Linked DNA regions of Homo sapiens: all the other regions are linked to region 1. Evidence: promoter capture Hi-C in 16 types of primary human blood cells and fetal thymus (Javierre and others, 2016). All regions are on one chromosome and are shown on one strand. Each heading gives the region's core, a stretch centred on a gene start or on the middle of the fragment in contact. The rest is flanking DNA. Distances are from core to core; before and after follow the strand shown.

The links. Contacts are between HindIII fragments. The CHiCAGO score rates a contact against its expected background, and 5 or more counts as called.
Region 2: a contact is called between a fragment that was not itself captured here and the fragment with the promoter of CNDP1 in region 1, in 1 of 17 cell types (naive CD4 T cells). The highest score is 5.1, in naive CD4 T cells.
Region 3: a contact is called between a fragment that was not itself captured here and the fragment with the promoter of CNDP1 in region 1, in 1 of 17 cell types (naive B cells). The highest score is 5.6, in naive B cells.

The regions. Positions count from the first base shown.
Region 1 is chr18:74,532,582-74,536,551 of GRCh38, reverse strand. CNDP1 (carnosine dipeptidase 1) reads right to left here and starts at 2,052. Exons shown (of 12, transcript NM_032649.6): 1 at 1,861-2,052. The coding sequence starts at 1,884. The HindIII fragment of the contact is 13,353 bases long and covers 1-3,970 here.
Region 2 is chr18:74,334,793-74,338,762 of GRCh38, reverse strand. C18orf63 (chromosome 18 open reading frame 63) reads right to left here. Exons shown (of 14, transcript NM_001174123.2): 8 at 1-48. Among named protein-coding and RNA genes, the nearest start is that of C18orf63, 21 kb to the right of the region's middle. The HindIII fragment of the contact is 4,991 bases long and covers 1-3,970 here.
Region 3 is chr18:74,372,608-74,376,577 of GRCh38, reverse strand. No RefSeq gene overlaps it. Among named protein-coding and RNA genes, the nearest start is that of LINC01922, 35 kb to the left of the region's middle. The HindIII fragment of the contact is 151 bases long and covers 1,730-1,880 here.

The DNA of each region.
Region 1 (3,970 bases), core at 803-3,302:
TGTCCATCAATGACAGACTGGGTAAAGAAAATGTGGTACATCTACACCATGGTGAATACTATGCAGCCATAAAAAAGAATGAGATCATGTCCTTTGCAGGAATATGGATGGAGCTGGAGGCCATCATCCTTAGCAAACTAATGCAGGAACAGAAAACCAGACACTGCATGTTCTCATTTGTAAGTGGGAGCTAAATGATGAGAACACATGGACACATAGAGGAGAACAACACACACTGGGGCCTATGGGTGGAGGACGGGAGGAGGGAGAGGATCAGCAAAAATAACTAATGAGTACTAGGCTTAATACCTGGGTGATTAAATAATCTGTACAACAAATCACCATGACACAAATTTACCTATGTAAGAAACCTGCACATGTACTGCTAAACCAAAAATAAAAGTTAAAAAAAAGTAAAAGAATAGCAAAGGGGAAAATATATAGTACAATCTCTTCCTCTCTTTCATATCAAAGGGTATTATATTGAGTCCAAAACAAAATATTTCCTTCTTTTTTGTTTCAGACAGGGTCTTACTCTGCCTCCCAGGCTGGAGTGCAGTGGCGCAACCATGGCTCACTGCAGCCTCGACCTCCCAGGTTCAAGCCATCCTCCCACCTTGGTCTCCTGAGTAGCTGAGACCACAGGCATGCTCCACCCTGCCTGGCTACTTTTAAAATTGTTTGTAGAGTCAGGGTCTCACTATGTTGCCCAGGCCAGTCTTGAACTCCTGGGCTCAGGTGATCCTCCTGCTTTGGCCTCCTAAAGTGTTGGGATTGCAGACATAAGCCACCATGCCCAGCCAGGGAAATTATTTTCTTTCATGTTGCTTTTAACTTTAATGTTTTGAATAGATACTATCATGACACAGTTTAAAGATTTTTTAAAGTAAGACAGTATTCAGTGAAATGTCCTCTTCTAACCCCCACCCCAATGCCCTGGCCAGTCATGGGTTCTTTAAAAAAAAAAAAAAGTCAGCAATGGAAAGCATGGCCAGACCACAGGGTGAGGTTCTTTCTCTCAGAGCAGTGATTTTGCAGCATGGTGTGGGAATCTCATGGTCTTGCAGGTGGGCAAAGCCCACTTCTAGAATCCGGCTGTGGTCAGGTCACCACCTGCCTGCTCACTGTGTCTCCAGCCTCGCATTTGCATGTATTTGTTTCAGTATGTCTTTTGAGAGTCTTCTACGTATCAACCTTCCACAAAATTCTGAAAATTTCTGTGTGTGTATGTGTGTGTTTGCAATGGAAATAAAAAGCGTCCATGAATTTTATCTTTCCAAGTAGTCTGGAACACAACCCCACAAAACCTCACAGCCAAAGGTACCTGCCTGCTTGTTTTCCTAGAGAGAAGCCTTCCCGCCACACCCACACTCAGGTTTGCACCTGAACCATGGAAACCTCGCCGAGAAAGGCCTGGGGTGATTTAGCCCGGTGATTAGCTCTTGCAAACTAGCCCTTAAGTCGGGAACCTGGGACCAGGACAAACAGCACACTGTCTGTTACCATTATTTAGGCAAATTCTTCCAGGAAGCAAACTCATTTTTTTTAAAGAGAAAAAGTACAGAAAAAAATTGATTTAAGAAGACTGAGTTCATGAACAATTTGAATATGAACTACTTGACAATAATGCCATTTAATTATTGTTAAGAACACACAACTACCCAAAAGCATTACTGATAAAATATAATTCCAAATACCACATTCCTCGGCCAAGACAGCACCTAAGAACACCATGAGGAGCAGCATCTGGGGCCACGCTGGGTGCCTGCCCTGCCCAACTGGGCTTAACGCACATGCTCCCGGGACAAATGGAATTCTGGCACCCAATGCACGGACTCTGATGGAGGAGGTCCTACTCACCATTCTCCCGAGTTTGGGATCCATTAGGCTGGAGTTCTGAAGCCTCTAGCAACTTTCCCAACCTCCAAAAAATGTGGCAGAGGGAGTCCCATGAAAGCCCCAAGAGGGTGACATTAAATATCTCTCTGTGCCCTGACCCACGTTGTCCCCCGGAAGGAAGACGAGGCTGGTATAGTGGAGCTATTCACATCTGGAGAACAAAGCGGCTTCGGAGGTATTCATTCAGCTCAACTGCAGAGGAAGAGACAATGCATCTCATACGCGCAGATACGGGATGAGGCAGTGGCCCCAAAGTCATGTGATGTCACTGGAAGCCAGCAGCCTGGCCCAGCCTGCGACTCCTCGGGTTCTTCTTTGGGGGCACTTGTGTGTCATCTCTGAGAGGGAGTAGGGCCCCGGCCAGCAGGCAGAGCTGAGCCAGCGGCACAGCCCCCTCAGGTGACAGCCCCCTCACATGACAGGCCCCCACACACTGTGGCTGTGGGCCCTTGTGATGGAATGTTACGGCCGAGGATTAGCTTCCTAGGGCTGTGCAGGGGCCGAGGGTAGAGTTTTCCCAGCTCTCTGAAGGTTCGCTGCAAAATCAGCTTGCAAAGGGCAGTTGAATTGGAGAAGAGGCATAACAGATTGATTTGCTCCTAGTTTTAAGTGACATGGGAGCCTTCAGAAGGAAGGACCAATCCCTAATGGGGTTGGGAAGCTGAGACACCCTCTTGAGGTTCCACAAGGAGTGGCGGCTTAGATTCTCGCGCAACAGGTTATGGGAGGAGAAAAGAGGACTTCAGCTGAGGGCAATCAGCGCTCACGAGGGAGGATTCAGTGGGCTTGAAGAGCACGCCACGGTCTTCGTTCAAGTCTGCTGGGCCCCGGAGCAGACAATGGTCTTGACAAGTCTGTCCAGCGTGTTCGGTGTCAGCCTTCCTTCCTGAGATATGGGTTCAGTTAACGAAAACTCAGGGAAGGGACTAGAGGTCATTCCTTTCTTCTTTGGTGGGTCAGACTTGAAGGAGATAAGGACACTTCAGGAACTCTGGGAGAGATGGTGGGGGTGGGGGAGCCGAGAGGCCTTGAAGTTCCTTTTCAGTTCAGCTTGAACAAAGCACCATATTTTGGGGTATTGGCTTCTGAGCCCCAACATCTGCTCTAACAAAAGTACCCTACACTGGGTGGCTTAAGCAACAGAAATCGGTCTCAATTCTGGAGACTGGAAGTCTGAGATGAAGGTATGGGCAGGGCAGGTTTCTCCTGAGGCTGAGCGGGAAGGGCGTGCTCCAGGCCTTGACCCGCGTGGCTGCTGGCCGTCCTTGGTGTCCCTTGTCTTGTACAAGCATCACCCGATCTCTGCCCTCATCTTCTTATGATGTTCTCCCTGTGTATGTGTGTGTGTCCAGATTGTCCCTTCTCATAAGGACACAGTTGTGTGTAATCAGGGGTCCATCCTATGCCCATGTGACCTTATCTAAAGATAAGTAATTCAATCTGCAATGACCCTATCTCCATAGAAGGTCACATTCTGAGGTCTTGGGGGTTAGGATGTCAACATATAAATTTTGGTGGGAAGGTCAGGGGACAGTAGAGAAAAGGAGGCAGCAGGGCACAGGCCAGAGCCTTGGGTTGAGGGGTCCCGGGGCTTTTCTGGGGGACTGGGATTCTTTTGCATCATTTCTCTCTGAATAACTCTTGCAGGGATTGGCACACTGGAGACTTACTCTAACTGTTTGCTGAATGAAAGGACAAATAATCAAATAATTTTTACCAACAAAGAAATCTCTGGAAAGGCAGAGTTGGAACTCATTATCCCTGCTAGTTAAGGCTAGCTGTGGCTATCAGGGCCGGGCCCCTCTCCCTTGCAGAGGGGCAGCGTCTCCACCAGCTGCGTCTCTGCACCTCCTCCCCATCCTCACACCCTTTCCCTGACACTTGCCAGGCCGGGCTCCTTGAGCTCCAGGCCCAGCACAGCAGCTCCCAGGAAGTGGGCCTGGCCCTTCTTCCGAAGGCCAAGTTGCTGGGATCATACTCAGAATTCCGAGGGCTGGAAAGGAAGGAGAGGGTGAGGCTGGGCCCAGGTGTGGGCTGTGATCCTAGGAGGGTGGGGGCCCTGCTGCCTGCA
Region 2 (3,970 bases), core at 452-2,951, 200 kb after region 1:
AGCATGAAAATCCTTTATAATACTCTGGGAAATCTCAAACTCTTTTAGCTTTTAATAGAAATAAGATTTGTAAGTCCTCAAATCATTTGGCAAAAAAGGAAACATTTTAAAAGATACATATTTGTTACACACACACAGTAGGTTATAAAGTAGATTTAAAGACTTAAGTTACATTGAATCATGCATAACCACTTTACATAAGTAGTCAAAGTTGCAGCTCACCCTGCTTCTCCTTTATACAATATATGAAGTATTTCATGCTTTCCCTCTTACCATCCAAGCCCAAACTCCTATTTTGCAGTGATTTTAGTTGGTTTTCAGGTGGTTTTTTTAATTATGTTAATTTGCAGGAAGTTGAATCTCTTCCAAAGGAAGGTGTTCATATTTTAAAATAATAGCTTTTAACCTCAATTGTTTTTTTAAATGGAGGATGAGTAAGGGAATTATACCTCCATCTGGTCTTTTGGAGGAGAAAAGACAGAGCCAATGCTCCAGTCTCCTTTTATACCCCTCCCAGCTTCCTAGAACACTTTCTTCCCTGTTCCTCAAGTGTCCTCCCTGTAGGGCATTTTGGCTTGTATTTAACCTACAAGAGTTTGCCAATTACAGCTCTCTTACCCTGGAAAATCTCCCTGAGAGGCACTGTTCCAGTTAGCCAAAGATATAAAGAGACCTCAAGGAGGGTGAAAAAATAAAGTATTAATGGGTGAAAGGACACTATATTAACATTAGACAGAATGATTCATAAACCCTTACCCCATTCTTAACCAACCACCTAACATCTTTTGGGAAACAATGTTCTAACTTCGCTGCCTACTACTTTTCAAGGAAGTCCAACTAAACTGGACAACTTTTTATTGCCTGGACTCCTACCAATAAGGTCCTAATGCCTGGATCTAGACCCATCTTCTCCATGTCCAGTGACTGATCCTTCTCTGAGTTCCTATGTCATTCATTAAGACTAATGGAAATGGAGGAGCAGGGAAGAGCAGAAAACATGAATGCAGGAAGAGGAAGATAAGATATGCTAGTTACGTTGTGAGGTAAAAGAGCAAGGACACGCAGAATGAATAAGGACACATATTTTCCTGTGCACAAGAGATAAATCTTGCACTGTGATGTACTGTGCTTAAGAGATCAGTTGCCTGAAATGTGTGATAAAAACATGGTTAGAGGAGGCATGGTTATGAATGTCAGAAAAGACTGGTTGCAGAGGGAGGACTAAACTGAGAGAAAACAGAACTTAAAATTGAATTCACAGAAGGTAGGTATCAGGTTCAAATGTTTAAAGTTTATGGGTTCCCACATACACCTACTTATATAGCTTGAGTATACATCCTCTGGGTACTTTCTACAGTATTCAGAGACTCAAGTCGATTGCTGCAGGGACCTCAGTAAGTACCAGTACTTATTGTTTACATTGGTCTTTCTCAACACAGATTAAAGACTGGCAAACCACCCAGCTGTTCACCATATACTCCAAGAGACTGCGAATGCTAACCCTTTGTATTTCTTTATTTAGCAAATATTTATAAAGTGCCCTTATATGATGACTAAAACCATACTGAAAAGCAGGTATTCAATAAATATTATTTTCTCCTTATAACGCCAATCTGAACAATTTAGACTTAATTTTCTCTAGGCAATGTTGAAATACTAAAGATATTTAGGCTGGGGACCTTTGTTTTAGAAAGTGAACTCTGTTGACATTGTAAGGAAAAATTAGATAATAAACTTGAAGGAGAAAGGCTGGAAACAGGCCCATATGGAGACTGGTTTAATAGTTCAAGTAAAAAAAGAGAGTCTGAATTAGAGCAACATAAATGGAGGCAGAGAGGAGTCCATTTCAGAGACCACAGTAGGCTATTAAAGACTAACTGGAAAGAGAAAGTGAGAAAGAGGGAAAGCCAAGGATAACTCTGAAGTATTTAGGTAGGTAAATTATTGACTGCTGATGCCACTAATGAAAAGAATAATTACACAGGGGGAACAGATTTGGGGTTGAGGAAGGTGACACATAAATACATTCAGTTTTAGACATAATTGGGTCTGACTGCCATTAGTACATTCATTTGAAAGTATCCAAGAGATGACAGAAAAGTTACAACTATACAAGAATATTTGGGAGGTACTGGTGTATAGGCTGAAGCTACTGAAATGGGTAAGCCTGCTAAGGAAAAGAGGGCTGAAAATGGAACCCTAAGAAACAGCAACATTTAAAATGATAAATGAATGAAGATAAATGAATTCCAGGAGATTCTAGAAAAATCAGTTTCAGATAAATCAAGAGAGGAGATTATTTCAAGAAGAAAAGTGTGAAAAATATTATAAGTGTTTCAAAGATTTCACATATGATTCCCTCAGACATTTTCTTTTTCTCTTAATTCCTCAAGTAACATAGTTCCTATAACACAAATTTTGATACTCCATTAACAAACATTGTTTTTTAATGTATTTTTATTTAACATATATTAGGTTTCTATTTCTGTAAGGCTCTATGGGACATACAAATTTGAACCAAAAAACCTAAGGCTAGGTGAAGGAAGCATGGTACAGCAGAAAGGACAGAGTTGAAGGACAAACTCAGATCCTGAATCTCTTACTACCTTTATGATCCAGAGCAACTTACTTAACTGCTTTGTGTCTTAATTTACTTATTTATAAAATAATAACAATAGCTATCATTTTTTAACCTCTACTGCCAGGTACTATGCTAGGCCCTTAATGTACTTTACACCATAACCTCCTTACAACCCTAGAAGGGATATCATTATCTCCAATTTATAAGAAAAATGGAGATTCTGCGAGATTAACTAACATGCCAAAGAGGCACTGCCAGTAAGTGCCGATCTGAGAATTTTAATGTGATTCTAGGCCTACACTGAATTTTCTGGGTATGTGAATATTAACCAGTACTCAGTAAATGTTCCCTTCTTCTGGTAAGTTTTATGTGTGCATGCTCTTCTTTCTTCTGACCTAGATAAAACATTCTGGGAGGAAAAGGTGTTTTCCATCAGCACTTGGCATATATACATAGTAGTACCCAGTAAATATCCATCTACGAAATAAATAGAAATTTGTTTCGAGGCACTCATTTCCCAAATTTTCCATATAATTAAATTTCAAAGCAAACAGTTTAATATTACATAATGCTTTTCTGAAATATATCCCTCATGTAACTGTGGATTCAATTATAATCTCAATGCACCAAACAGTAAAATGGCAACTTGTGCATATAAATTCCTTTAAGAAACATTTAATTACTTCCAGGAAAGCATTATTTTAAAGTTTAGCACAGTCCAAAATTTGAGAAATGAGTAAATTACTGTTTCAATTACCTCTTAAATTTTTTTATCTCTATTTAAATTGTAAAGATAAGGGCTGAAATCCCATTTTTCATAATGAATTATAATAAACTGCTTCAAAATTTGTCTAAATAGGGTCAAAGGTCAGGATTTAGAAAACTACTCCAATCTCTAGCCCAGAGGAATTAAAAAAGAATTTAGAAACAAAAGTCACCTAGTTCAAAAAATAAATTAGTCTTTCACTCCAGTCAATGCTCCATTCATTCCATAAATCTTTACTAAAGTGAGTGACAGGCACTAGAGTAGGCTCCTATGATAGAAAGATTAATAAGACACAGACCTTCCCTCTAGGACTTCTCAGTTGAATGAGACATTTGCATAGATAATATGTGATAAACAAGGTAGAGAGCACCAAGAGAGATGAGACTTAGGAGCTGGGGAATTCTTCAAAGGGGTGATGTCTGAGATAAGCCTTGAAAGATGAGCAGAAGAAAGGGAATTACAGGCTTAGACAACTGTGAGATCAAAGACATGGAAGGATGAAAGACCATACTATCTTTGAGAAACAATTCATAGTCTGGCTACTTGGAGAGCAGTAATGGGAGATGAGGCTATAAGTAAGATTGGTTTGGATCAGTTTGCTGAAGACCTTGTATATCATAGTA
Region 3 (3,970 bases), core at 556-3,055, 160 kb after region 1:
AGCCTTTGGGAAATGTACCAATGCTGGGCCATGCACCCTAATAATTTGGAAGACTGTGGGGCTGGATTATCCCAACTAAATTTCACAAATAAATTTTTCTTCTAAAATAAGTGGTTATAACCACTGCTGATTACCCTGGGAAGGGGTCACTAGTCCATGGCAACTGCAGCCCAGAGTGGAATGAAGAGAAGGAGGTGGAAGCTCGTGAGGGAGCTGTTCTGTAACCTCCACTGCTTACTCGCTTCTTTAATGACTTGCAAGTGACTCAGATCCAACATACACAACAGTAAACCCATGAAGTTCTTTCATGCCCTCCCCTACCCATGTTTATCACCCTGGATTTTGCCATCTCCGTGAATGGGACCATCATCCACCTGCTTGCCCATGGCAGTAACCTCAAAACTGCGCATGACTCATTGCTTTCTCCATCGTCTCTGGATCTCATTAATGATCTGCTAGTGATCTCATGCTTCTGGCCATGAGGGAGTAAGACGGCCTGTGATCTCCCTCCCTCTGTAAGCAACTATAAAAAAAGGATAAAATATAGAAAGCCACTATTTGGATATAGGGCAAAACAAGACTGTGATTCCTGAGAAAAAGGAAGAAGACAAGGTAAGCCCTACCATCAGCTGGCCTTTCTGCCTAGAGATAAGTCCTGGGCTACAGTCCAGGGAGGGAGAACTCCAAAAAAGTGAGGCAGCTTCACAGAGCTGCAGAGACAGAGGTCAGAGATGGGGAAGGCCAGGCGGCTCTGTGAAGAACCTGTGAGGCAGAGTTCTCAAGGGAAGGGGCTACACAGATAAAAGTACTCCGGAAATCTGCACATGAGTTCATGGAATCTTTTTAAAACAGAAGTCTATAGAAATATAAGGCCAGATAAGAAAAGCTTCTGGTGAAAGAGTAATTATGAGGAGTTCTTTTTTTTTTTTTTTTTGAGATGGAGTCTCACTCACTCTGTCGCCCAGGCTGGAGTGCAGTGGCATGATCTCAGCTCATTGCAACCTCCACCTCCCATGTTCAAGTGATTCTCATGCCTTATCCTTTTGAGTAGCTGGGATTACAGGCACCCACCACCACACCCAGCTAATTTTTATATTTTTAGTAGAGATGAAGTCTCACCATGCTGGCCAGGCTGGTCTCAAACTCCTGGCCTCAAGTGATCTGCCAGCCTCGGCCTCCCAAAGCACTGGGATTACAGGCATGAGCCACTGCACCTGGTGAGGAGTTCTAAAATGAACAATTCCCTAAAATTGCAAAGCCAAAAATCACTCAAGTTCCCTCCAGCCAGAGAGAGAGACCTCACTGAATATATGGGGCATTTAGAACAAGCCCCAGAAAGGCCATGACTTAGAAGAGGAGTCAAATCAGTCCTGGAATAAAGGCTACTCTAGGCCCCAAAAAGCTTATAAGTAAACCTCAAGGGAATCAAACTAATTTCTGAATAATTTATAGAACAAGTAGATAAAAAATCAGTAAGGATATAGAAGACTCGAACACAGTATTAATCAATTGACCTCACTGACATGTATAGATGGCTTTACTCAACAACAGCAGAACACATATTTTTCATAAGTGCTTGTAAAACATTCGCTATACCAGATCATACATTAGGCTATAAAATAAGCTTACATAAATTTAAAATAGTAACCACAGTGGAATAAAACTAAATAGCAATAAGAGAAAGGTATAATATATGGAAAAGCCACAAATATTTGGAAATTAATAAGCTTCTAAATGGAAATTGGAAAGTATTTCAAACTGAATGAAAATGAAAATATAACATGTCAAAATTGTGAGATATAGCTAAAGCAGTGATTTGAGGATTATAGCATTTCATGCTTTTATTGGCAAAGAGAAGTCTAAGGTCAGTCATCTAAGCTTTTACCATATTCAGTTAATAGTAAATCCTGTCAATTGTACTTCCTAAATAACTCTTAATCAGTTTCCTTCCCTCTGTCCTGCTGTCACAGCCTCCTGATCCCCCTATCTTAAGTCATCTCCAACCCCAAATTCCCAGTTCTTTCTTGTCAGCTGCACCTCTCACCACTACTTTCTCCTTGCACTTCAGCCTTACTGATGTCTCTAGTTCCTTAAAGCTCTCATGGTCTTCTCTGGGTCATCTCACACACATTTTCCTTGCCTGACCACTCTTTTATTTCCAATTCACCCTGCTAATTCCCACCCATGGAATTTCTCTTCTTTCTGGAAGGCTGGGTCCTGCTATACGCTTCCGTTCTAGCTCATTGTACTTCCTTTGTGGTGGCATTTAACCTATGCTCGTGATTTCTTTAATTGTCTGTCTTCCCCAGCAGCTGGGTCTCGTCTTGTATATCACATTGTGTATCTGTCCCCTTGCACACTTTCTGGCACTTATTGAGTGCTTAACATCTATTTGACAAATGAATGAAAGCCTATTTTAGTGGAAATATGACCACTTAATTTGTAGTTACAGGTTGAGAAGATCAGCATTCCTGGATCACAGTTCGCAGTCAACATTGGGCATCTCCCAGCATCCATTTGTCTTTCTTTTTTAATAACCGCCCTGAATTCTGTTGGGGGCTCATGAGGTTCCTGAGAAGCCACTTATCCCAGCTCAAGTAGTTGCTCAAATATTCATCATTGAGAAAACAGATCTGTTTTTGTGGCTTCAGTTACTTAAAACTATCATTTCTCAGTTAAATATGTTATTGGGATTCCCTGGAAGTGTACAGGGTCCTCCCATTAAGTCATCCCCCTTTAATGAGCGGTACTGGGGTGAAGGTATCTGGCAGGTTCCTGTTAGGCTTTTCTGGCTTGACTATTTACTTTTTTTTTTTTTAATTATACTTTAAGTTTTAGGGTACATGTGCACAACGTGCAAGTTTGTTACATATGTATTAGCTTCGCATGTTCAAAAGGATGTGGGTGCTTACCTAGTGCCCTAGAAACAGCACAAGCCATAACGTGACGTCTCTGAGTGAAACAGGCCTAAAGCCACAAAGGAGATAAAACAGATAAGGTAAGAATAAGACGAGAAAATCAAAGTGGAATTAACCTAAATTTAACACTATCACTCCTGTGGTATCTGCACATATCAAACAAAAGGAAATAGCTATCTGGCTTGACGGCAAAATGCCGTGCCTCGTGCCACCTTTTTTAAAAAAACAATAATATGAATGATTTTTTCCTTGATAATACAAATAATTCATATTCATTATGGAAAATTTGGACACTTTTTAAAAGTATTTAAAAATGGGTCACCCAAAATAATACACAAAATACCCACTGGTAATGTCTTTTTTTTTTTTTTTTTTGAGACAGAGTCTTGCTCTGTTGCCCAGACTTGAGTGGAATGACATGATCTCAACTCACTGCAACCTCCGCCTCCCAGGTTCAAGCAATTCTCTTGCCTCAGCCTCCCAAGCAGCTGAGATTATAGGTGCCCACCACCATGCTGGGCTAATTTTTGTATTTTTAGTAGAGGCGGCTTTCACCATGTTGGTCAAGCTAGTCTCAAACTCCTGACCTCAAATGATCTGCCCACCTCGGCCTCCCATGAGCCACTGCGCCCAGCCCATTGGGAATGTCTTGTTGCATTTCTTTTCATAACTTTTTATACATATACAGACAGATGTGTATTTTTCTTTTCAAAATTAAAATTTTTTTGTACATTACTTTTTTCACATACATCATAACCCAAAAAAGTGATTTTTGGCTGGGCGTGGTGGCTCACACCTGTAATCCCAGCGCTTTGGGAGGCCGAGGCAGGCAGATCACGAGGTCAGGAGTTCGAGACCAGCCTGGCCACCATGGTGAAACCCCGTCTCTACTAAAAATACAAAAATTATCTAGGCGTGGTGGCGAGCGCCTGTAATCCCAGCTACTCAGGAGGCTGAGGCTGGAGAATCATCTGAACCCGGCAGGCAGAGGTTGCAGTGAGCCAAGATCACACCATTGCAATCCAGCCTGGGCCATAGAGCAAGACTCTGTC